7 separate regions of the Homo sapiens genome follow, and all the other regions are linked to region 3. The links are contacts of gene promoters, found by promoter capture Hi-C in blood cells and fetal thymus (Javierre and others, 2016). All regions are on one chromosome and are shown on one strand. The core of a region is centred on a gene start or on the middle of the fragment in contact, and the rest is flanking DNA. Distances in the headings are between cores, read along the strand shown. Region 1 overlaps PLCG2 (phospholipase C gamma 2). Region 2 overlaps LOC105369213 (a long non-coding RNA gene). Region 3 holds the start of GAN (gigaxonin). Region 4 overlaps CMIP (c-Maf inducing protein). Region 5 overlaps PLCG2 (phospholipase C gamma 2). Region 6 holds the start of LOC100129617 (a long non-coding RNA gene). Region 7 overlaps LOC105369213 (a long non-coding RNA gene).

Region 1 (3,486 bases), core at 860-3,359, 470 kb after region 3:
ACCACTCTCCTGGATTTACCAGAAGATCACCTTTATAAAAAGGGAATTGTATTATACTCATACAGTTGCAACTATTGTCTGAAGCTATTTTTTTATTGACCTCACAAATCTTTCCAGATCAAATTGCTTATCTATCATCCTCATTCTTTCTGATGGCTACTGAGCGTTCTTCAGTGCATGTGCACCATTATTTATCCAGGAGGCCCCCCACATTGATGAGCAGTTGTTTTCTGTTTTTTTTTCTTTTTTTGTATTTCTATTGCAACTATTGCTTCCGTGATTTTCTGTCGTACATATTGCATCTTTGTGCATGTCTTTCTTTACATGTACAATTGCAGGATCGAAGCATATGCGTGTTTTGCTTTTTAGTAGCTGCTCACAGGTTGCCCTAAAGGAGCAGGGGTGGAATTTACACTCTCACTTGCAGTGGCTGACACCATTCCTTTGAAAATAGTGTATTCCCTCTAATGCTGCAGGGTGGGTGTAAGGTGCAGCAGTAATGTCCCTTGAACTGTTGGAGGGGCCCTTACCACTCAAGTATTTGCCTGTGCTCCATTTTAACACAATTGTCTTGTGGGATTTTTGGATGAAATCCTGTACTGGCTTACCATGCACAGAGCACTGAAGAGACAAAAACTTCCTTGATTTCTGGTTTTGGGTCCTCGCATCTCATTTCATGTCCTTTCCCCCCCCCCCCCCGCCCGCCCCCGAGACGGAGTCTTGCTCTGTCGCCCAGGCTGGAGTGCAGTGGCGCGATCTCGGCTCACTGCAAGCTCCGCCTCCCGGGTTCACGCCTTTCTCCTGCCTCAGCCTCACGAGTAGCTGGGATTACAGGCATGTGCCACCACACCCGGCTAATTGTTTTGTATTTTTTTTTAGTAGAGACGGGGTTTCATCGTGTTAGCCAGGATGGTCTTGATCTCCTGACCTCATGATCCGCCCACCTCGGCCTCCCAAAGTGCTGGAATTACAGTCATAAGCCACCGTGCCTGGCCCATTTTATGCCTTTCTAAATAAGCTTATGAGATACAAGAACATGAATGAGCTTATGAGATACAAGAAAAACCTTTAGAAGGACATGAAATGTAAAAATGGCAAAAATCAGTTATTCAAACTCAGCCATATTTGTATTTACAAAATAAGTCATTTTATAGAATTACCCATTAAGAATGGGAAACAGGAACAAAAAAGGGATTTCAAGGCTTTTTTTTTTCTTTTTTTGAAAAAACCAAAAAAAGCAGAAGCAAAATGGAAGTTGCTGTGGTGGCTGGTGCTCTCTCCTGGGCTCAAGGTCTTGGAGACCTCCCTGCCATAGTTGATAAAGCGTGGAACGCTGGAGACCTGAGCTGGGTGCTGGCAGGATTTGAATGGTGGACTCCAGGGATCTTTTGGCCGTGAAGATCTGTTTCCAATTGCATCTCATAAGCTCATTCATGTTCTTGTATCTCACAAGCTTATTTAGAAGGGCATTTCGTGAGATACAAGAACCCCAAACCAGAAATCAAGGAAGTTTTTCTCTTCAGTGCTCTGTGCATGTTAAGCCAGTACAGGATTTCATCCAAAATCCCACAAAACGATTCTGTTAAAATGGGGCACAGGCAAATACTTGAGTGGTAAGGGCCCCTCCAACAGTTGAATGGACATTACTGCTGCACCTTACACCCACCCTGCAGCATCAGAGGGGATACAGTGTTTTCAAAGGAACGGTGTCAGCCACTGCAGGTGAGAGTGTAAATTCCACCCCTGCTCCTTTAGGGCAACCTGTGAGCAGCTATTACAAAGCAATTGGTGAGACGCAGCATGGAAGTCTGGTGTTTATGGCTGAGTTGATCCACTGGGCTTCGAAGCTGGAAGTAACTGGGACCCTGGGGAAGGTTAAGTCCAAGGCCCTCCCAGAGTGAGGGCTGGAAAGAACTGAGGAGCCTGGTCCCTTGTCCTGGTTTCTGTCTAATTGAAGGTGTTATAATGGGGCTTGTGTTTCCTACTTATGTTCCAGTGGACTATGGCCTAGAGACCTGGGAGTGGGGAACTCCAGGATGCATGGCTGGGAACAGTCAACATAGTGAAGAGCTCTGTGGTTGGCAGCTGGGTCAAATCCAGTTTCAGCTACTTTTTTAAAATTTTATTATTATATTATTATTATGCTTTAAGTTTTAGGGTACATGTGCACAACGTGCAGGTTTGTTACATATATATACACGTGCCATGTTGGTGTGCTGCACCCATTAACTCGTTTTGCTACTTTCTATCTGTGTGACCTCGGATAAGTCCCTTAACCTCTTTTGAGAGTGGCAAGTACTGGCAAATCAGTTAATATCTGGCCAGATGCTGCCACAGGATTCTGGACTAGGGGCTTGGGACTCAGGTGAGGGTTTTGATCTTTGTGCTGCTGCTGGTCTACATGACTTTGATCAAGTAATGTGACCTCTTGGGATTTCAGTTTTCCGCTGCCGTATTTCCCATTGAGATAAATGAGACGAACCAGACACAACAGGTGCTTGGCACCTGGGGAAGGGCCCAATAAATGGCTGCTTAACAAGGATGAAATGGACCATGGGGGCACCTTGTTCATCCCTTTGTCCTGGCTAATGATCAGGAGGTCATTTTGGGTTTCTCCTGATAAGGTAAGATGCACATTAACTCTCAGCAGGGTTTTTTTTTAGCATACTCTGTTCTGCCTCCTAGCCTTTGCTTAAACTTAAAGCCAGTTCCTCCTGCTTCATCTTTTTTGAAAGATTGAGTTCAGATGCCTGCTTTTTTCCCCTGAAAGCTTTTTCTGAGCCCTTTAAGTGCCTAGCCACACTCCAGATTAAATTTAGGATTCCTTCTTGCTGCTCTCTGCCCGCCGTGCCCCCAGTGCATGCTTCTGCTGCTGCACTTGTAACTACATTAGAATTCTCAGTTGATTAGTCTGTTTCCCCATGGGCAGAGAGCAGGTGTAATTATCTCCTGCTGCTGGCATGGCTGACCGAGGAGGTCCCTTTGGTATGGGTGTGCAGTAGAGGGAGGTGGGGGCAAAGGGCAAATCCTGGGCCCCTCCCCATTCCCCTCATTTGCATCCTAGTCCCCACCTCAGTGCCTGGCATAGAGTTGACATTTGATTAATGCCTTCCCCAATGGCTGATTAATGCTAACTGAGACCCTGGTAAATGCTGCAGGCTGTGCATACATTGTAGCTTTTTGTCTTCCCAGCTGCCCCTTGTGGGCATTTAACCTCCATTTTACAGATGAGGGAACCGAGCCACAGATTTAGAGCAGCTTGGCAGAAGGCTGAGCCCGGCTGGAAGCACAGACAGCCCTGGCTGAACACCAGCCTCTCACTCCTCCTTCTTTGGATCCTGGGAGGGTCTCTCTAGTGCTACTCTGTAACCTTGAGAGCTACAGAGTAACAACTCCAGGCACCTCCAGGGACTTGGAGGGAAAGGAGGAGATAAGAAACAGAACAAATAATGGTAATTTTAACAATAGCTTAATCTAAGGAGTGCT
Region 2 (3,527 bases), core at 317-2,816, 430 kb after region 3:
GGTGCAGAGTTGAGGATGGTGCTGCTTCACAGGTGATGACCCTGCCTGTGTATGACTCTAAGAGTGACTGCCATCTTCCATCCTACTCCTGGGGCCCAGCCTATCTCCCTGGAGCCCCAGCCCCCATGCAGGGTGAAGGAGGGTTTAGATGACTTGGCAGAGTCTTAGTCCAGCCAGGAAAGGAACGTCCCATGCACTACCCCTGAGAAATGACTCCATCAACAGTGGTTTCAGGAGCGCTTAGTATGTGCTGGGAACTGGGGTGGACAGGAGTGACCACAGGCATCCCACTGCTTTCAGGGAGCTGGTGGGGAGAACTCAAGACAGATGATAGCACATATAATCATTTGTTACCCCACGGTGGGTGCTATGAAGGAAAGAGCCAGGTGCTACGAGACGGGAGTGAACAGGGGCCGGGAGCCTCACTTCCCATCTGGCCAGACTTCCTCAGGTTCTGGGACCCAGCTTCACAGGGCCCCTCGTCCTCCCAGCTTTGAAGTTCTTATCATTGGTCCCGCTCCTCTTGTTCTTCCAGACGTGTGAAGAGGGCCTGCTCTGTGTCATTATCAACTTGCAATAACTTAGTGTCCCATTTCATCTTTTTGGTTCTCGATACCTGCTTCACAGTTCACCTATTATGTTTTATCGACAGAAGAACCAGTCTAGCTGGGTTCGGTGGCTCATGCCTGTAGTCCCAGCACTTTGGGATGCTGAAGTGGGGGGATCACTTTAGCCCAGGAGTTTGAGACCAGCCTGGGCAACATAGTGAGTCTCTGTCTCTACTAAAAAAAGAAAAGACAGAAAAGGAAAGGAAAGAAGGAAGGAAGGAAAGGAAAGGAAGAAAAAGATAGCTGGGCATGGTGGTGCACACCTGTAGTCACAGCTACTAGCGAGGCTAAGGTGGGAGGTTCACACGAGCATGGGAGGTTGAGGCTGCAGTGAGCCACAGTAGCACCACGGCCTTCCAGTCTGGATGACAGAGACAGACCCTATCTCAAAAACAAAAACAAAACAAAAGAACCGGTGTGCTCTGTCTCTTGACTGGACCGACTGGCACAGACTTGCTGGAACACTGGTCACCCAGGCAAAGAGCCCAGGTAGAGCGACCTGCGTGGTCAAAAGCCAGGAGGCTGGAAGGAGTGAGGGACATTTCCGGAGCCAGAGGCCACAGTGGCCAGAGGGGAGTGAAAGGGGTGAGGTTGGGCTCAGGAATGGGCACCTCATGCACCCTGAGCTGATGAGAACCAGACTTAGGGCTTTTATTGGAACTGGTGGGTTAGGAGATCCTCTCTCTTGTGGATGTGAAGCCAGGAGAAAGGAAAGCTGCAGCTATGCAGGGCTCCTGTGGGAGACAGCCTGCCTGGAGGTGAGGCCCATCCCAAGGGAGGGAGAGTGGCGAGATGAAGAAAGACTAAGTCCCAATGACATTGTTGGAGCCCCTTGATCCAGCTGTGACTGTGGCCCTTGGTTTTCAGTTACATGAGGGGATAACCTCCTTTTTTTTCTTTTTCTTTTTTTTTTTAAGACAGAGTCTTGCACTGTTATCCAGGCTGGAGTGCAGTGGTACGATCTTGGCTCACTGCAACCTCCACCTCCTGGGTTCAAGCAATTCTCCTGCCTCGGCCTCCCAAGTAGCTGAGATTACAGGCATCCGCCACTGCACCCAGCTAATTTTTTGTATTTTTAGTAAAGACAGGGTTTCACTGTGTTGGCCAGGATGGTCTCAAACTCCTGACCTCGTAATCCACCCGCCTCGGCCTCCCAAAGTGCTGGGATTACAGGTGTGAGCCACCGTGCCCAGCCAACTTCCCTTTTTTTTTTTTTTTTTGTTTGAGATGGAGTCTCACTCTGTCACCAGGCTGGTGTGCAGTGGAGTGATTTTGGCTCACTGTCAGCTCCGGCTCCTGGGTTCACGCCATTCTGCCTCAGCCTCCCAAGTAGCTGGGATTACAGGTGCCCGCCACCAAGCCTGGCTAATTTTTGTATTTTTAGTAGAGACGGGGTTTCACCATATTAGCCAGGATGGTCTCAATCTCCTGACCTCTTGATCTGCCCGCCTTGCCCTCCCAAAGTGTTGGGATTACAGGCGTGAGCCACCGCACCCAGTCCCCCAACTTCCCTTTTTGATTAAAACAGATTGAGGTGACTTTTCTTCTCACTTGTAACCAAAAAAATTCCAAATCTTTTGGCACTCCATAAATAGCAGTCATGATGGTGAAGCTGGTGGGGATGATAAGGAGGCAAGTTTGTTTTTTTTAAGATAGTCGTGCTCTGTCACCCAGACCATGGCTCTCTGCAGCCTTGACCTCCTGGGCTCAAGTGATCTCCTACCTCAGCCTCTTGAGTAGCTGGGTCTACAGGCATGGGTCACCATACCCAGCTAATTTTTTTTTTACAGGCAAAGTCTCACTATGTTGCCCAGGCTGATCTTGAACTCCTGGACTCAAACAATTCTTCCGCCTCAGCCTCCCAAAGTGCTGGGATTACAGACATGAGCTACTGCTCCCAGCCCAGGAATTGGAATTTTTTAGGGCATCTGGAGAGGTGAAAAAGGGGGCCAACAGGCTGGATGCTGCAGGAAGGAAGGGGAAAGGAAGAAGGGTTGGTTTTTCTGGATTCAAAGTGTCTCATCTTAACTCCAACCCTGGACTTTAAAAATAATGTTATGCAGTGGAACCTTTTTCCTGTTGATTCCATAAACATTCAGCAAAGAATATAAGATGATTAAGTGCTGGTTGTAAATGACCTCCAGCAACGGGGCTGGGTTTTGCATCCAGGTCACTGCAGGGCTGAACTAGAAAAGGTTGTGTTGGGTAACCCAGCCCAAGATTCAATCTTAATCGGTCTAAGCCAGTGGTGGCATTCCTAGCCTCCCTCCCACTGATTGGCCGGGAAGGGCATATGACCTAGTGCTGACCCATGAGAGGTAAGGAGAGTTGCCGGAAGCCTTCTTGGATGACCTGTGGCCACAGGAACCTCTCTTTTCTGTAAGTTGCAATATCCCTTAGGGTAGTCACTGAAAATCTTCATGTTTGACCATCCTCTGCCTTTCCCAAGTTGAATTTTGCTCAGTTTCATCCAAACAACGACTATAACTCAGGGTTGCATTCAACATATTTAACAACCGAGATAACATGGACCCTGACTAACTAATAGCCACTGGCCACAGACTGCAGGCCATATGGTAATTACCAGCTGGATGTCAACCCCAAGTCTGCTCCCTATTATGGGCTGCATGTAGTTGGCTCCTGGGGATACAGAGATAAATTATGTGGATTTACTGTTCTCAAGGTGGGCAGTCTGGTAGCTTCTGTAAGAAAAAGTAGGTTAGGTCTAGAATGCCAATGTTTCGCATTTTCCCTGTAAATCTCAGGTTCTGACCTTGGCTGACATTAGGGTCAGGGGGGAGCTTGGCCCAGGCTGATTCAGCAGATCTGGAGGGGCATGGGCATGTATGTTTAAACAAAGTCCCAGTTGGGAACCTCTGCTTTCAGCTATCCATTCAGAGGCCGAGTTCAGCGGCCAGA
Region 3 (3,175 bases), core at 458-2,957:
ACCCGGGAGGCGGAGGTTGCAGTGAACAGAGATTGCACAACTGCACTCCAGCCTGGGCAATAGAGGGAGACTCCATCTCAAAAAAAAAAAAGAAAGAAGAAAATATTTTTCAACATCCACAAAAATATAGAAACAGTACAATGAATCTCCACATCCCCATTAAACATCCACAACAATATAGAGACAGTACAACGAATCTCCACATCCCCATTACGTGGCTTTAACAATTAGTAACTTGCGGCCACTTTTGACTCATCTACACTCCCATCTGCTTCCCCATCCCTTTGTTTTGTTTTGAAGCAAATCCTAGACATCTTTATCATTGCATCCGGGAACACTGAGCTGCATTTACAGAAGAAAGTGGAAATGCATGTGTCTTCCACAGCCGTACCCTCCCCATCTATTCTGCCCTGAAAACAGTTAGATACTCGGATTCCTGCCAGTGACTCCAAAGCCTTGGCTGGTTCAGGGTAAATACCCAAGACTTTATTGGAGCCTTTCAGTTGGTTGAAGGACAGTGAAAATTCCATCCTGTCTTGCCTGGAATGCTAGCCACATTCTTCTGGTCCGGAGTCCTCATACAATTGCTAATTTTTTAGAGGCTTATGGAGTCCCTAACGTTTGCACAAAATGGTTGCTACATTCCACACTCCCATGTGCCCTGAGCAACCTCCAGGGAAACTTCAGATACCGTGGGGCTTGGCCTGCCAGCTGAGCTGACCCAGCGATCCTTTCTATCACAGCTTTGATCTTCACTGGGTTGGGAGCCTGTCTGAATCTAAACATCTGCCTCTCTACTGCCCACCCCTTCAGCATTTCCTAGCTCTCCCTGAAAGGTGCAAACATGCATGCAGTTACTCAAACAGAATATTTATCCTTAACTCCCTCTCCCTCACAATTTCTTTTAAAACAATCCACTATTGTCTACCCCCGCCCCCGCATCACCCTTTCATCCAGGTGCCCATTCCCTTCTCTCTAGTCCTGCAATACCTAAGCATCGATCTGCCTTTAGCACATCCATCCCCGCCTTATTCTCCACGCAGGAGCTGAGTGACCTGCACAAAATCCCCTGCTAAATACGGTACTTCCATGGTTCTTCACCACTGCAGAAACCAAACTCCTTCCCACACCAAGGAGGCCCTGCAAAATTTAAGGCCTCCTTCGGACTTCTCCAGCTTCATCTGCTACATCTCCTTCCTAGCCCGCAACCAAAACCATCTTTTCCGGGTCTGTTTTCTCGGGTTTTTGTCCTCTCACCTGGGCAGCTCCTTTTCTCTCATAAATAAAGAAAGCTACAGCGACTTCGCCCTTGCTTCCATGCATCATCTCATGAGTCCACAACAACACTAAGAATTCGCTTTCATTTTGCAGACGGAGAAACTGAGGATGGGCACCTTACCCATGGCCACAGAGCTAGTAAGTGGAACAGCTGCAACCAGGATTCAAACTCGCGGCTCCAGAGGCCACAGGCTTAACCACGGAATCCTAGCCCGCCCGCACATCCCTCCATCGCGGGAGCGACCTATCTCATCCGTAGACACCTTCCGCTGCACCCAGCCGCAGCTGGTCAGGCGGGCGGAGGAAGGAGGCTTCTGATTGGCCATCTCCAGCAGCGGAGGCGAGAAGGCGGGGAGCGACGGTGCGGGGGCGTCGCGGAGAAATGACTTCATGACGCGGCTTCTTAAAGGCGCCGGCCCAGCGCGCCGCGGATAGCACAGGCACGTCCCGGGGGCTCCAGCTTCTGCTCAGAGCGCGGAGAGCCGGGCCGGGCGGGCGCGCGCGCAGGACTCGGGCCGCTCGAGGGGTCCGGCCGGACGGTGTCGGGAGCCGGACCCGTCGGCAGAGGAGCGGGCGCCGCGATGGCTGAGGGCAGTGCCGTGTCTGACCCTCAGCACGCCGCGCGTCTGCTGCGAGCGCTCAGCTCTTTCCGCGAGGAGTCTCGCTTCTGCGACGCGCACCTGGTCCTCGACGGGGAGGAGATCCCGGTGCAGAAGAACATCCTGGCGGCGGCCAGCCCGTACATCAGGTGGGGAGGGGGCTACGGCGGGCGGGCGCGGCGGTGCTGCCCGGAGCCGGAGGCGGGGCGGCCGGGCCGGGCGTGGCCCCCAGACCCTGTCCCCTGTCCCCGGCGCCGGGGTCCCCGCGTCACCGTTGGCGCGGCGTCCCTCCCGGCAAGCGCCGGAACCCGGCCCCGCTGACCGCGTCCCCCAGGCGGCCTCTGTGGCTTCCAGGCCCGCGCTCCCCACTGGACCCCCGCGCCCCTTGGAGTTGTCCCCGGACCCGGGCCGCGATCCCCCGCCTTGTCCCTCCCGGTTCCCACCGCCGCGGCGAGCGCCCGACCTCGGAGACCCTGAGGCCCCCAGACGCCGTCCTGGGCCGGCCGGGACCCGCACCTGCGGGCTGGGCGAGGCCGCGCCGGGGAAGAGTCACCCCCTCGCCCAGGCCGGGCCCGCGGTCCCCGCTGAAGTTCGCCAGTCGCTCGCCTCTGAATCCACGCGCGGGGGCTGGGCCGGCGCCGCCAACCAGGCGGGGAGCGCCCTGCCCGCTGGGAGGCCAGACAGACAGCGCCTCGCTGGGTGCAGGCAGAGAAAACCCTCTCGATGTTCTCCTTGGGTTGGTAGTCCGAACCTCCGGGCGAAATTCTCCTTGCCAAACGTGTCTTTTCCGCTCCATTCTGGTAACTGTTTAAAAGAGGAGTTACACGTTGAAGTAAACTGTAGCGAATTCTCAGGATGCTGTTACAACCCGAGGACCGTGAGAGCCTTGCGACAAAGGGCATTTTAATACTTTAGTAAAGCAAAGCTTAACCTGATTTGCCAACTCAACTAACCAGGTTAATTAAAAGGTTGATAAGACAGTGCTTATACAAGTGTATCAGATCTTGCAGGAGACTATCTTTTCTTTTAGCAACCTTCTTGCAAACTAGGTTGCTGTTTTAATAAAAGGAAAGGGGGGAATGCTAAAAACTGGAGAAACTGACCAGTAAGCTGGTTAAATATAAGCTAGTGGTAGAGAATATCACTACAATTGACAGGTCAGAAAAAGCAAAATGATGTGTATTCTTAGCGCTTTGTCCCAGCAAAACCACCACGCACGCTACACTTTTAACCTTTGCATTGGGGAGATATCTGTGCTAAACTTAGAAGAAATTCAAGTGCCCTTGTAACTTCTGGTT
Region 4 (3,503 bases), core at 515-3,014, 390 kb after region 3:
CCTTACTCTCCTCCCTGTCCCCTCACCCTCCTCCCTAACTCGTTCACCCTCCTCCCTACCCCTTCATCCTCCTCCCTGCCCCCGTCACCCTCCTCCCTGCCCCCTCACCCTCCTCCCTGCCCCTCACCCGCTTCCCTGCCTACACCCCAGGCATTGCTTACCACACGACCCTTCCCTCAAGCTCAGCACCCACTCCCTGAGGCTAGAGGAGGTTGAGGACCTCATGAAGCCCTGCAGCCCATTTCCCATTTGGAAATAATGTGCCCAGTTCCGAGTCCTGAGGTTCTGAGAGGTAGAGCTGAGACGTGAGCCAGGCTTCGCTGGCCTGCGGGGGGCTGCGCAGGAGGCTTCTGGGTCTTTTTGTTATAGTAACACCAGTGGCTGCTGAGTCCCAGCTCAGTGTGAACTGCACTGCTCAGTACTCTGCACAGGGCAGATGAAGGGGCCTTCACTGCACACCTGTGAAGTGCAGGTTCTACCCTCACCCTAATTTTCCAGAGGAGAAACTGGGGACAGTCCCTGCAGCCTGCCCCCGGCCCAGCCCTGTCCTTCCACTGTCCACCCAGCAGGAGAAAGCCACCTAGGCAGCATCTCGAAGCTAGGGAGAGACAAGTTCAAAGCCCTCCTTCATGGAGGCAAAACTGACTCCAAGGGGGCCCTGGCCTGGCTCCACTCCCAACAGCAGAAGCTGGATTCTAACCCGGTTCAGAGAGGCGTGGGATTGTTTAGGGGACGTGAACGCAGCCCAGACCCCAGGGCTTGGTGGGCCATGGGCCTCAGAGCCAGGCTCTGTCCCCATCCCTTTCCTCCACCTCTGCCCCAGCCTCAGAGTCACTTCCCCAGGAGTGGCCGGGAGAGGGCTGAGAGTTTCTGTGCTCTACAGTTTGGAGACGCTGGCCTTCGGCTCCTGTCGGAACACCTCACCATGCTCCAGGTGCTGAACCTGTGCGAGACCCCGGTCACAGACGCTGGCCTGCTGGCCCTGAGCTGTGAGTGCCTCCGGGGCAGCTGGGGGGTGAGGGGCCGCTTGATTCATTCCTTCCTTGCTTCAGCCAAACTGGCCAAGCACTGACTTTGCACCATGCACAGATAGAGAAATTCGTTCATTCACAAACGTGTTCACTGCACACCTGCTGTGGACCAGGCACCATTCCATGTGCCAGGAACAACACAGGGAAAAATATCCCTAACCTCAGAGAGCTTATATTCTAGAGGCAATAGAAAAAATGAGTAAGGCCAGCCCATAGCCTCTTGACACTCACAGTCCACTGAGGGGTCGAGTTCAAGGACGGGGCTGTAGTACATTGCCACTGTGGTCCCCTGACCAGTGGTGGCAGCGTCTTCTGGGGGCTGGTCAGAAATGTACATTCCCAAGCCCACTCCAGACCTCCTGACTCAGACACCGTACGGTAAGCAGATGCCTGGGAGGCTCCCGTGCCCGTTGACATTTGAGAAGCCCTGTCATAATAGAAGGAGGCACAGAATTCTCAAGGAACCTAGAAAGGCCAGTTCCTGTGTGCCAAACCCCAGGTGACTGAACTAGCCTCAGGGATATTGAGCCCGGGATTCTGTATTTGACCAGCTTTCCCTTTTCCAGGCCCACTGCTTTAGACGGGAAGACCCGTGGCTCAGTGGGAAGAGTCAGAAAAGGCTTCCCGGGGAGGTGCTGTTGAGTCTGGGTGTGAAGACAGATTTGTGGGAGTTGGCCAAGGGGGAGGCACCCTGAGCAGGGGCCATGACTCCTACCGGGCCGCTGGCAAATGCTGGGTGGCTTGGGAGGAGGTGGGAGCAGGTGACTGGGTCAGTGGAGGCAGAGCGGCAGCGCTCGGCCAGTTTGGCTGCAAATGCAGATGCGCTGCTTCCACTGGAGTCCCCCGGGGGGGCGCGGTCCTCATCAACAGCACAGATTCCTGGTCCCTGCTGCGGCCCTGCTCAGCGTCTCTGGGAGTGGGTGGAGGGGTCTGCCCCCCGTGCGACTCCAACACAAACCAGAGGTTGAGGCTTGCTTTCAAGAAGCAGCACCGAGTCAATGACGACGGGGGGACCATCCGGGGTTCCCTTAGTGGGGAGGCCTCGGGCCTGATCTGGGGTGTGGCAGGCAAGCTCTGGGGACATCAGGTCCAGGCAGTGGGGGCACACGACAGAGGGACCAGAAGGGAGGGAGGCTCAGAGGGTGGGAAGAAAACGAAGGCTCTGTTCAGACCAGCACGTGCCTGAAATAGACTTTCGGTGTCTAGTGGGCCACCTACCCTGGCTGTGTCTACGAAACCTCCCTCCCCAGCCCCATCTCCTAACAGGGGGCCTGGCACCTGCATTGAGCTCCTCCAGCTTGGCCATCCCATACCTTCATACCTTTGGGGCCTCGCTCTCCTAACAACTGTATCTGTCTCTTGTGCAGCCATGAAGAGTCTCTGCAGTTTAAACATGAACAGCACCAAGCTCTCAGCTGACACCTACGAAGATCTGAAGGTAATTCCCTCCTTCCTCCCCACTCTCCTCCCCTCCTTCTTCTAGCCAGCATCTGGATGCTGGTGCATCTCCTGCACAGAGCTCGTTCTCCAGTAAAGGATGATGACATCTACAGATCAATACATAAAATAATGGCAGATCAAAAAGAGTGACAAAGAGGAAGCAGCAGGGAAGTAATTGGAAATAGGAAGGCCTGTGTGGCCTGGGGTGATCAGGGATGGTGCCTTTGATGAAGAGGCCGCAGGAGCTGAGACCCAAAACATAAGAAGCCAGAAATACCAAGGGCGAGAGGAAAAGCAAGTGCCAAGGTCCTGAGACAGAAGAGATGGGCGAGGCCTGGCTTTGCAGCAAATGTAACCAGGAACTGAGAGAGGGAATGGGCTGGGGCCGGATGGAAAAAGCCCTCACAGGTCACAGCAGAGCAGCGAGTCATGCTTTTCAAAGCATGCTCTGGCTGTTAGGAAATAAATATTTTGAGAGGGAGCAGGAGTAGAAGCAGGGAGGGTTGAGCAGGGCTGGTGCCTCACCACTGAGGGCTGCGCTGCACCGGCACTAGGCCAGCAAGTGAAATCCGGGAAAGAAAAAGGATCGGAGGGTGGAAGGCAGGGGCGTTTTAAGAAACACACGTGCACATCTTGGGAAGGTTGGAGGAGCCAGGCCCTCAGTCGCCTCCTGTCACCCCGTCCTCCTGGGCCTGTACCAGCTGCCCCAGAAGGAGCGGGCGGGACTGGCAGAGGGCCAGCATCCTGGGAGAGAAGGGCTGGGCTCAAAGGTGAGAAGGCACAGATGGCACCCGTGAGCCACGCTGGCACCTTCGTGCTCTGGAAGCTACTTAGAGGGAATCCCCCGGCAGCCCTTGGCCGGGGCCCACCTCCTACAGCCAGGCCTCCTGCCGCCAGGGCGTGCTCACTGGGGCATCCTCCAGATGCTTCTGGAGCCTCTGCTGTGTACCAGGCCCATGTCAGGGACAGGGACACCGAGGTGTGGCTGCCACAGTCCCCTTCCGGGGGATAGTCCCTCCTGGCAGGCACAGG
Region 5 (3,592 bases), core at 634-3,133, 500 kb after region 3:
GATCCTCTCCCCATAGAGTTGGGATAAAGATTAAATGAGCCAATACACATTAGGTTTGTAGCACAGGGTTTGTCTAGAGTAAGTGCTGACTAAACGTCAGCTGCTGGAGATGGTGGCGATAAGAAGTTACTTTTATTATTATCAGGACTGCTTGTTCCAGTGGCTGTTCCAGCCTGACAAATCTTCCAAGGCAAAACCAGAGTTGCTGAAGTTAACTTTTAAACATTTCCTTTTTTTCCTGAGTTATGGAAGGAATGATAATTGGGGAATTTAGGCTTAAAATGAAGCACCTGTGATATGACGCTCTGGAACGCCTCTTCATGCAGAGGGTGGTTATGCGAAGGGAGGAGGTTTTATTGCATATGGGGCCTTACTGGACAGTGAAGGGAGGGGGTTCCCAGCTCTCCCTGGTGGGCCCAGGCTAGAGCATGGGTCTCCCAGTCCTCACCAAGGGGTCTCAGCCTCAGCAGGTTGGCAGCCACACAACACAGTGAGATCCTTCTGTGTAGCTGAGCCTCTGATTCCCAGAGGTGAAGATACAGTCTTAGAGTGTATCCCAGGGACCCTGTCTTTCCAGCGGGAAACTGCAGGGGCTGAGAGACCACCCCCTAGAGGCTTCCTCATTTGCATCTTTAACACTGCCATGGTTGGGGGCTGTTTTCTTCTTCAGCCTGCCCTGCCTGGGCTCTGTTGACTACTCAGCCTGTTGTTCTGAAGTTCTCCTGGCCCTTTCAGAGGCCATGGGGGCTCAAAAGCCACTCAGAACACAAGTCCCTCTTCAGCTGCTGGGAGTCTGAGCATGGGAAAATCCTGCCTGATTTTTTCCAGTTCCCATGCAGGTGGTGGCTTCTTCGATTCTCGCGGTCTTCTTGGTGGAAACCTTTGTAGGTCTTAAGTGCGCTATAATTGAGCAGTCTTAAATGACCAGACACAGTGGCTCACGCCTGTAATCCCAGCACTTTGGGAGGCCAAGGTGGGCGGATCACTTGAGGTCAGGAGTTCGAGACCAGCCCGGCCAACATTGTGAAACCCCGTTTTTTACTAAAAATACAAAAATTAGCCAGGCATGGTGACTTGCGCCTGTAATCCTGGCTACTCAGGAGGCTGAGGCAAGAGAATTGCTTGAACCCGGGAGGTGGAGGTTGCGGTGAGCCGAGATTGTGCCACTGCACTTCAGCCTGGGTGACAGAGCATGACTTCATCTTTAAAAAAAAAAAAAAATGTGCCTTCACGGACAGGCACGATGGCTTATGCCGGTAATCCCAGCACTTTGGGAGGCTGAGGCAGGAGGATCACTTGAGGTCAGGAGTTCGAGACCAGCCTGGCCAATATGGTGAAACTCTGCCTCTACTAAAAATATAAAAATTAGCTGGGTGTGGCAGCACATGCCTGTAATCCCAGCTACTTGGGAGGCAGAGGTGGGAGAATTGCTTGAACCTGGGAGATGGAAGTTACAGTGAGTCCAAATCGTGCCACTACACTCCAGCCTGGGCAACAGAGTAAGGCCCTGTCTCAAAAAACAAATAAATTAGGCTTCAGATACTGAACTATCTGGCATATCCTATTTTGGGACCATGAAAAGGGTGACCTGGCAAGTCTGAGAAGGAGACCTTTTCCCTCATTATAATTTTTTTTTTTTGAGACACGGTCTCATTCTGTTGCCCAGGTTGGAGTGCCATGGTGCAATCACAGCTCAACTACTGCCTTGACCTCCTGGGCTCAAATGATCCTCCTCCCTCAGCCTCACAAGTAGCTGGGACTACAGGCATGCACCACCATGCCCAGCTAATTTTAATTTTTTTTTTTTTTTTTTTTTTTTTTTTTTAGTAGAGGTGGGATCTCACTATGTTGTCTAGGCTGGTCTTAAACTCCTGGGCTAAAGCAGTCCTCGCATTTCAGCCTCCCAAAATGCTGGGATTACAGGCATTAGCCACGGTGCCCAGCCAGAAATTATGACTTACTCCCAAGGTCCTGATGTCCAGAAGCAAGAACTGAAAGTGCGGTTGCGCTGTTATCATTAGTGGGAAAACACTCAGGCACCTGGGGCCACATCCGGTTCTGCCTCTTTCTAGCTGGTCTAGAGTCTTCTCTGAGCTGGGCTTTTTTTCCTATGCCCATTGCACAGTTACCCATTTATTGCCCAGAAGGTGACGGGCACTGGATGCGTTAGATGCTGGGGAAATAGAGGCACAACCATCACAGTGTCCTTCTTGTGAGTTTTGAAGGCTGGTGGGGAGAGACGGATGGTAAACAGGGAGGTGAAGACAAAGCCCTCTCTTTACAAGCGAAGTCAGCACAAGGGACAGGAAGAGCGCACATGATGGGTGGTCAGAAAAGGCCTCTCTGAGGAGCTGATATTTAGGCCGAGATCCGATGGGAAGAATCCTCTAGGTGGAGAAGGACTATGCATCCATCCCCCATGTATAAAATGGGAATAATATTAGTACCTGTGCCGTGAGGCAGTTGTGAAGGTAAAATGAATTAGTGCGTGTGAAGCACCTATCTTCCACTAAAAACAGAAAGCTGTTTTAGATGTTGATATTACTATTATTATTTTTGAGAAGGAGTTTCGCTTTTGTTGCGCACGCTGGAGTGCATCGTCTTGAGGGGTGCTGCGCAAGGCACTAGGGTGGTTTTAAACGCCTTTTGTCAGCTGTGTTTGGTGTTGCTACAGCTTCAGTAAACACAAGTGATAAAACAAGAGCCCTCAAACTGCACCTGGCCTTCCAGAAGATGACAAAGATGTATGTAGAACATCAGAGGGTACCTTGTGATTATTTTATTTTATCTATTTATTTTTAAAATTTCAAGTAGAGATAGGGTCTCACTGTGTTGCCCAGGCTGGTCTAAAACTCCCAGACTCAAGCGACCCCCATGCCCTTGGCCTCTCAGAGAGCTGGGGTTACAGGCATAAGCCCCTGCACTCGGTTGTGATTCTTTCACTTAACACATTTATTGATAAGTTATTACATGTCAGGCCCAGGCCAGGGTAGGCAAAAATGAGACAAGCTCCCTGTGCTTATGAACATGTTCTCACGTTCCTTACTGTTTCGGGGAGAAGGGGGTTAAGTGAACACTTGGGGTTGAGAGCAAAGACCCAAAGGAGAAGACAGATTCTGGGAGGGAAGGGGCAAGATTAGAGAGACCTGGTTGTCATCTACTCTCTGTTCCTTCCTTTCATGTGGCCTGGGCTCGGTCACTTCCTCTCTGTCGGCTCGTGTCCCCTGATCTGTGAAGTGAGAATTACAACACCTACTTTACAGGGCTCTCGTGAGTATTCAGCCAGCTAGTGTGTTAAGCTCTTACTCCCGTTAGGATTGCTTCGGCCCTCTGTGCCTCAGTTTCCTCACTGGTGAGGTCCTTTCTGCCTGATCAAGTCTGTGGCTCAGTCAGCTCCTCACTTCCTGCCCCTCTGGAGGACATCCCATTAGTCTCTCATTCCATCGTGCTCTTCTCTTTGGGAGCATTGTCATATGGTGGTTATTTATATTTATGTGGGCATTTAATGTCTCTCTTTCTCAGACTGTCAGCTCTTTGAAAGGGGGCTGTTTGTTCCATTCATTGTTCCTGTGTCATGCATGATGACTAGCAC
Region 6 (3,415 bases), core at 176-2,675, 350 kb after region 3:
TTGCAGTGGAGAAACCAGACACACTCAGCCTCAGCCAGGTGATCAAGGTCAACATCGACAACAACAAGCCAGTTAGACAGAATATTCCCTTCATAGGACGTATAAAAACGACACTTGACCTCTATGGTCTTCCTCCCAGTAACCCATCACCCCATTCCAATCATGAGAAAAACATCAGACAAATCCCAACAAGGGGACAGTCTACAAAGTACCTGGCCAGTACTCCCCACGGTCAAGGTCATCAAAAACAAGGAGATTCTAAGAAACTGTCACAGCTCAGAGGAGTCTACGGGGGCGTAACGACTAAATGTCATTTGGGGCTCTCCATGGGATCCCAGAACAGAAAAGGGACATGAAGGGAAAACTGAGGAAATCTGAATAAAGCTTGGCCTTTAATTTTTTTTTTTAAATACAAAAGCAGGATTTAATTGCACACTTAGAGCGGGTGGGGCGCTTGTAATCTGTGTGGCCCCTTGGTGTTCCCTCATCATTCCAGGGACAGCAGCAAATGCCATTATTTGCCCTGTATGTCACGAGGAAACTGAGGCTTAGCTAGGTCCACTAAGTGGCCACAGGGACCACAGGTAGGAATAAGAATAACATCTTTTTGCAGATGCTTATTGAACACTTTCTTGGAGTCAAGAGTGTGGTGCTCTTTGAGTGTATTGTGTTATTAACCCTCATGCCATTCCCATGACACCTGTGCATAGGAGGAATCTGGGACCCAGAGAGGTGGGACGGGATAGGCAGGGTCTGATGAGCAGCTGTGGGTGGTCCTGGTGGGAGCTAAGGAGCAGGCAGCCTGAGGCCAGGGCCCATTCCCAATCACATGTTGTACTGAGCCAGCCACCACGTTAGATTTTAGAGTCTCCTGGAGCACGTGAAAACAACTGAAAAAGGGTAACCACACATCATTTCACTTGTGATGTAGCTTGCCTGTCTCCACACCATGCCCCTGAAGAATAGTATATCACCTACAGCCCCTTCCCCAGTCAGGAATGGAAGTGCATGACACATGTGCTCCTCTACCCCTTCCATGCTCATGGCAGACATCATTAATCAATTATAGCACTCTTTCTGTAGAGCCAGAGACAGCATCACACTCTTTCCCCTCCTGCATTCCAGGCCACCACTACCAACTGAAATCGTGTTAGTACCATAATGAATGCTATGTACCATTCTCTACCCTAAGCGATTGCAAACTGTAAATGAATTGTTGCTGATTTCTGAGCCCCTCCTAGATTTGGGGTAAATTCATTTCTTGTTTTCAGAACACAGGGGATAGGGACACCCTGTGCAGTTCTTTCTCCAGGACAAGGAGACTCCCCACTGGGGGATGGGGCGGGGTTTCTGCCTTAATTTGGGCGCTCATAGTTTCAAGGAGGAGCTCTTTCTGGCTTTGGCCAGCTAGAAGGAAAGGTGCCCTGTTTGTTAACTTTAAAATCACTACGGGTGTAGTGTATGGAGTGGGCTGTGCCATGCTGGAGTTCAGAGCAAAGGTTCTTCAGGTTTTCTTGCGAAGGACCTTAACTTGTCAATGGCAGAGCCACACCCCCGGGACATACTTGGCAGAGGAATGCCTCTTCAGGCACATAAACATTTTTGCATACTCCATGTTAGTCAATAAACCGTTTCATAAGGGTTCTTTGAGGACATCTGACTTCAAAGGGAAAAAATTCATAATTCAGACAGGCTCTCGGGGCTTCACCATACAACGCCTTTCTTGTATTTGGTTAGTTTTATGGGCCTGGAGTGTTGACCATGTATTAATTTTCTCTATAAAAATCAGAACCGCTCTGGGCAGACCCAGAATTTATAGTATCTGTGGCAGTCTGGCAGAGAGTAGGGACCCTCAGCCATGAGTCCTCGCCTCACTTGTAACGAGTACCCCCTAAGTGATCCCAGGTGTCTGGGGATGCTTTAACGCACCCAGATCCCACCTTGCTCTTGGCGCCTCCTAATTACACACCATGAGCGGCGGCGGCAGAGGAGAACTGCTGGGAGGACCGAGGAGGATCCGCCTCTCGTGTAGAAGAACAGACTGTATTAAACAGTGATTATGGCCATGCCAGGCACAGGAAGACCTGACCTCATGGAATCCTAACAACACAGGCGGTGGGCGAGAGAGAGCTTTGACATTTACTCACTGAATGCGCCCTGATGCTTAATGAGTGGCACGGGTCAGCAGCACCGTTGTGGAGCTGGGGCTCTCAGCTGGTGTGGGGGGGGGGTCATGTCTCTGGCTAAGGAGCGTACCTAGCCTGCCTAAGCCATGAGCCTGTTGGGGTGGCATGAACAGTGACTGCTCTTCACCCCAAATGCAGTGTTTCTCCTTAAGGAGGCACTCAGACATTTAGGAAACGGGGGGAACGTAGCCACGGTGCTGTTCTGGGATTTGGGGGCTCCCCCATTCTGGGTGCATCTCTTGCAAATATGTTATGTGCTCCCTTTCACGGATGAGCAAACTGAAGCTTTGAGAGTCTCAAAGAATGTTCTTTACTAGACTGAAATAAAAACTAGAAACAAAAGGAAGCGGTTCTTTAGTATGTTCCTCTGGAGATTCAGTCCAAATAATTCGCCAAACTGCGTTCTGAAGAATGACCATGTATCTCTGTGCCCCCACGCCACTCGGAGTGTTCTTGTGGCAAAGGAGGCGAGAAGACACGGCTGTGGTCCCCAGTGGACCGTCAAGTAACCTAACCTCCAGTTTTCCAAGGGGAGCGTATTTTTCAGAGGCTGCTGGATCCCTCTGTAAATGTTTATTTCCATGGAAATGACCTTGATTATTCAAAAATCTAATAGCTAAGATGACAGTTACCTTAAGTCTCTGTTGAAGCAGTTTACAAAATCATAAAACCCTCGTGGTGGAAGGGGGCTAGAGATCACTTCTGTGGACCCTCATTCCATAGTGGGGTCAGTGAGGCCCAGAGACAGACGTGGCAGCCCAAAGCCAGATTAAATACTTGTGAGGCAGAGGCCTCATTTTCTAACCCAGGAGGGAGGGAGGGAGGGAGAGAAAGAGAGAGAGAGAGAGAGAGAGAGAGAGAGAGAGTGTGTGTGTGTGTGTGTGTGTGTGTGTGTGTGTGTGTGTGTTTGTGCTCATGCCAGTGCGTGCATTTTTCTGAACTTGCTCCGGGGGCTCTGCCTCCCTCTTTATGTAGCAGGACAGTCCTAGCAGGCAGACGAGTGAAAGCTCCCCCTGCACTGTCTCTCACAAAGGACCCCTTTGACTCCACATGAAGAAGCCCCCAGCGGCTCTAGAAACTCTCTCCTGGGAGCCTGCGGGAGGGAGTGGTAGGAACGGGTTCCACTCAGAGCTTTCATGCCAGCTTCGGGGTCAGTTAGACCTGAGGGGGGTCTCTATTTCTGTTCTACAGCTTGAAGTCCTGATGCAGGCTGCTCTCCTTAAAAAATG
Region 7 (3,386 bases), core at 867-3,366, 450 kb after region 3:
CAGGAGGATCTCTTAAACCCAGGAGTTCAAGGATGCAGTGAGCTATGGTCAAGCCGCTACACTCCAGCCTGGGCAACAGGGCCAGACCTTGTCTTTAAAGTAATAATAATAGTAATGATAATACTTAAATGTAAGTGTATTGTAATTATGAAAGTGTAATTCTTCTGATTATAACACAGTACATGGGTGAGAGGTGACGCGTTGTAATGGTTAAGCTTGGGCAGCAGCCTGGGAGCTGACTGCCTAGGTTAGAGTCATATGTCTTTCCCTCGGCTAGCCTTTCAAACTTGACCATGGCTCGAACTTCATTATGCCCCAGTTTCCTCCTTTGTAAAATGGGGATCAAAATAGAACACCCCTCATGGGTTGGGCTGAGGATGGGATGAGTTAACAGACATAAGGCTTAGAACCATATCTAGCTCATTGTATTTGCTATGTAGTTGTTTGCTCTTCTCATTTTTCCAATCTTTTATTATAAAAATTTTAAAACATACAGAAAAGTAAAAAGGGTTGTATAGCAAGCATCCATCTAGTCACTACCTATGATTTCACCCTGCACATTTTTTTTTTTTTTTTTTTGCGCATGGAGTCTTGTTCTGTCACCCAGGCTGGAGTGCAGTGGTGTGATCTCGGCTCACTCTAACCTCTGCCTCCTAGGTTCAAGTGATTCTCCTGCCTCAGTTTCCCAAGTAGTTGGGACTACAGGCATGCACCACCACGCCCAGCTACTTTTTGTATTTTTTAGTAGAGATGGGGTTTCCCTATGTGGTGGCTAGGGTTGTCTGGAACTCCTGACCTCAGGTGACCTGTGTACCTCGTCCTCCCAAAGTGCTCAGATTACAGGCATGAGCCACCACGCATGGCCCCTGAACATTTACTCTGTTTGCTTTGTCACATCTGTCTATGCCTCTTTCCAATTATTAATGCATGTTAATTTTAATGCATTTCAAAGTAATGGCAAATGCATACATATGTTGCTATTATTTTTTTAAAAAGAAACTGTCAACTGTTAAAATGGTCTGGGCATGGTGGCTCACGCCTGTAATCCCAGCACTTTGGGAGGTCAAGGTAGGCGGATCACCTGAGGTCAGGAGTTCAAGACCAGCCTGGCCAACATGGGAATATCCTGTCTCTACTAAAAACACAAAAATTAGCCTGGTGTGATGGCATGCTCCTATAGTCCCAGGTACTCGGGAGGCTGAGGCATGAGAATCGCTTGATCCTGGTAGGTGGAGGTTACAGTGAGCCAAGATTGCATCACTGCATTCCAGCCTGGGCAATAGAGTGAGACTCCGTCTCAAAAAAAAAAAAAGTGTATAAAATTGTCTGTATTTTCCTTTAACATAAGGAACAGAGTCCTATAGATGAAACAGAATCATTAGGTTGAGGGGAGAGTGAAAAGGCAGGCCAAGGGACTTCCTGACAATGGGAAAAGCCTGAGCAAAAGAATACACCACTGCAATATCCCCCCAAGTCCCCAAGGCTGGCTGATCAGGCAGAGCCCCTTCAAATGGGCATTAAAAATACTTGCTAATCCCAAGGTTTTGGGTGGCCAAGGCAGGAGGATCACTTGAGGCCAGGAGTTTAAGATCAGCCTCAGCAACATAGTGAAACCTCACCTCTACAAACAAATTTTTAATTAGCGGGAATGGTAGCACATGCCTGTAGTCCCAGCTACTCAGGAGACTGAGGCAGGAGGATCCCTTAAGCCCAGGAGTTAAAGGCTGCAGTGAGATATGATCATGCCACTGTATTCTAGCCTGGGCAACAGAGTGAGACCCTGTCTCTTAAAAATAATTAAATCAACAAAAAATAAGATAAAATACAAAAGATAAAAATACTTGCTTGCTCAGATTTGATTTAGAGGAGACTGAAGAAGAGGCCTTACAGAAGGCAAAGAAGGAAAGTTCCAGATGGGAGAACCCAGCCTCTCCTCCACTGCCGCAGATGATTCTGCTGTAGCCCAGATTTGCAAGCTCCACTCAGCAAAATAATCTCCCTGTATCAGTCATCCATTGCTGCATAACAGATGACTCCAAAATGCAGTGGCCTAAAGCAACAATAACTCAGATTTTCTCATGGTTTCTGTGGGTCGGGTATTTGGGAGTGGCTGGGAAGTTCCAGCTCTCTGCAAGGTCTCTTGTCCAGCTGCAGGTGGATGCCAACTTGGGCTGGGGCCATCTCCAAGGTGTCCTCCCTCTCACGGCCTGTGCCTGGGCTGGGAAGATGTGAGCAGAGGTGAACTTTACAGGTGAGGCTCCCCGGGCACCTCTCCAGCATGGTGAGGTCAGGGTAGCTGGTCTTCTAACGTCATCTTGGGGCTCCTAAGTTGTGTGCCTCAAGCCAGGCAGAAGCTGTCACACATTGTCCCTTTTACTACATTCTATTGAGGCAGCTATAAAAAGTTACAAAGGGGGCCGGGTGTGGTGGCTCATGCCTGTAATCCCAGCACTTTGGGAGGCTGAGGTGGGTGGATCACCTGAGGTCTGGAGTTCGAGACCAGCCTGGCCAACATGGTGAAACCCCATCTCTACTAAAAATAGAAAAATTAGCTGGGCGTGGTGGCAGGCACTTGTAATCTCAGCTACTCGGGAGGCTGAGGCATGAGAGTCGCTTGAACCCAGGAGTCGGAGGTTTCAGTGAGCCAAGATTTTGCCACTGCACTCCAGCCTGGGCGACAGAGAGACTCTGTCTCAAAAAACAAAAACAAAAACAAACAAAAAATAGTTACGAAGTTCTGAGGCTGGGTGCAGTGGTTCAAGCCTGTAATCCCAGCACTTTGGGAGGCTGAGGCAGGAGGATTGCTTAAGCCCAGGAGTTCGAGACCAGCCTGGGTAACATGGTGAGACCCCATTTCTATAAAAAATTTAAAAAATTAGCCAGGTGTGATGGTGTGAGCCTGTATCCCTAGCTACTCCGGAGGCTGAGTGGGAGGATTGCTGGAGCCCAGGAGGTCGAGGCTGGAGTAAGCTGTGATTGATTGAGCCACTGTACTGCACCCTGGGGGACAGAGTGAGATCCTGTCTCAAAATAAATAAATAAATAAGTAATAAAAAGTGAAAAGTTACAAAGATCTGGCAGATTCAAGGAAAGGAAACCTGGACCCCATCTCTCCATGGACGAATGTCAATGTGACAGTGTAGAAGAGCATGTGGGATGGAGGAAGAATCAGGGGATGTGTCTTTGGAAAGTGCAATTGCCCACAGCTGGCATCTGAATAGATTCACTCTCCTCAAAGACACTTTTGCGACACTGATCACTGGCCAAGCGTGCCCCGTGCAGGTCTCACCCTCCAGCCCATGCAGTTGTCTTTCAGCCACAGGCTGAACACTGGCCATCCCAGCTGTGTCAGAGGACTTTGGCAAGCCTAATTTTCTCCATCTTTT

The links. Contacts are between HindIII fragments. The CHiCAGO score rates a contact against its expected background, and 5 or more counts as called.
Region 1: a contact is called between a fragment that was not itself captured here and the fragment with the promoter of GAN in region 3, in 3 of 17 cell types (fetal thymus, neutrophils and monocytes). The highest score is 10.8, in fetal thymus.
Region 2: a fragment that was not itself captured here is called in contact with the fragment with the promoter of GAN in region 3 in 16 of 17 cell types (naive CD4 T cells, non-activated CD4 T cells, naive CD8 T cells and 13 more); the score reaches 34.1 in naive CD4 T cells.
Region 4: a contact is called between a fragment that was not itself captured here and the fragment with the promoter of GAN in region 3, in 10 of 17 cell types (neutrophils, naive CD4 T cells, M1 macrophages and 7 more). The highest score is 10.5, in neutrophils.
Region 5: a contact is called between a fragment that was not itself captured here and the fragment with the promoter of GAN in region 3, in 1 of 17 cell types (neutrophils). The highest score is 6.2, in neutrophils.
Region 6: a fragment that was not itself captured here is called in contact with the fragment with the promoter of GAN in region 3 in 1 of 17 cell types (neutrophils); the score reaches 8.6 in neutrophils.
Region 7: a fragment that was not itself captured here is called in contact with the fragment with the promoter of GAN in region 3 in 8 of 17 cell types (neutrophils, total CD8 T cells, naive CD8 T cells and 5 more); the score reaches 9.7 in neutrophils.

What each region holds. Positions count from the first base shown.
Region 1 is chr16:81,781,181-81,784,666 of GRCh38, forward strand. The region is part of intron 1 of PLCG2 (phospholipase C gamma 2); the gene reads left to right. Among named protein-coding and RNA genes, the nearest start is that of PLCG2, 3.6 kb to the left of the region's middle. The HindIII fragment of the contact is 1,317 bases long and covers 1,452-2,768 here.
Region 2 is chr16:81,742,355-81,745,881 of GRCh38, forward strand. All of the region lies in intron 2 of LOC105369213 (a long non-coding RNA gene), which reads left to right. It also overlaps a transcript of PLCG2 not described here. Among named protein-coding and RNA genes, the nearest start is that of PLCG2, 35 kb to the right of the region's middle. RefSeq lists an enhancer at 3,198-3,527. The HindIII fragment of the contact is 6,269 bases long and covers 1-3,527 here.
Region 3 is chr16:81,313,255-81,316,429 of GRCh38, forward strand. GAN (gigaxonin) reads left to right here and starts at 1,708. Exons shown (of 11, transcript NM_022041.4): 1 at 1,708-2,026. The coding sequence starts at 1,860. RefSeq lists an enhancer at 1,545-1,744 and silencers at 1,755-2,094, 2,235-2,294, 2,315-2,584. The HindIII fragment of the contact is 5,241 bases long and covers 1-2,800 here.
Region 4 is chr16:81,704,616-81,708,118 of GRCh38, forward strand. It overlaps CMIP (c-Maf inducing protein), which reads left to right. Exons shown (of 21, transcript NM_198390.3): 19 at 884-989; 20 at 2,399-2,469. Among named protein-coding and RNA genes, the nearest start is that of PLCG2, 73 kb to the right of the region's middle. RefSeq lists an enhancer at 65-566. The HindIII fragment of the contact is 6,739 bases long and covers 1-3,503 here.
Region 5 is chr16:81,814,857-81,818,448 of GRCh38, forward strand. All of the region lies in intron 2 of PLCG2 (phospholipase C gamma 2), which reads left to right. Among named protein-coding and RNA genes, the nearest start is that of PLCG2, 37 kb to the left of the region's middle. RefSeq lists enhancers at 462-511, 2,495-2,544. The HindIII fragment of the contact is 5,740 bases long and covers 1-3,592 here.
Region 6 is chr16:81,664,749-81,668,163 of GRCh38, forward strand. The region is part of intron 7 of CMIP (c-Maf inducing protein); the gene reads left to right. It overlaps LOC100129617 (a long non-coding RNA gene), which reads left to right and starts at 606. Exons shown (of 1, transcript NR_045112.1): 1 at 606-2,528. The HindIII fragment of the contact is 2,087 bases long and covers 383-2,469 here.
Region 7 is chr16:81,761,270-81,764,655 of GRCh38, forward strand. All of the region lies in intron 3 of LOC105369213 (a long non-coding RNA gene), which reads left to right. It also overlaps a transcript of PLCG2 not described here. Among named protein-coding and RNA genes, the nearest start is that of PLCG2, 16 kb to the right of the region's middle. The HindIII fragment of the contact is 3,806 bases long and covers 214-3,386 here.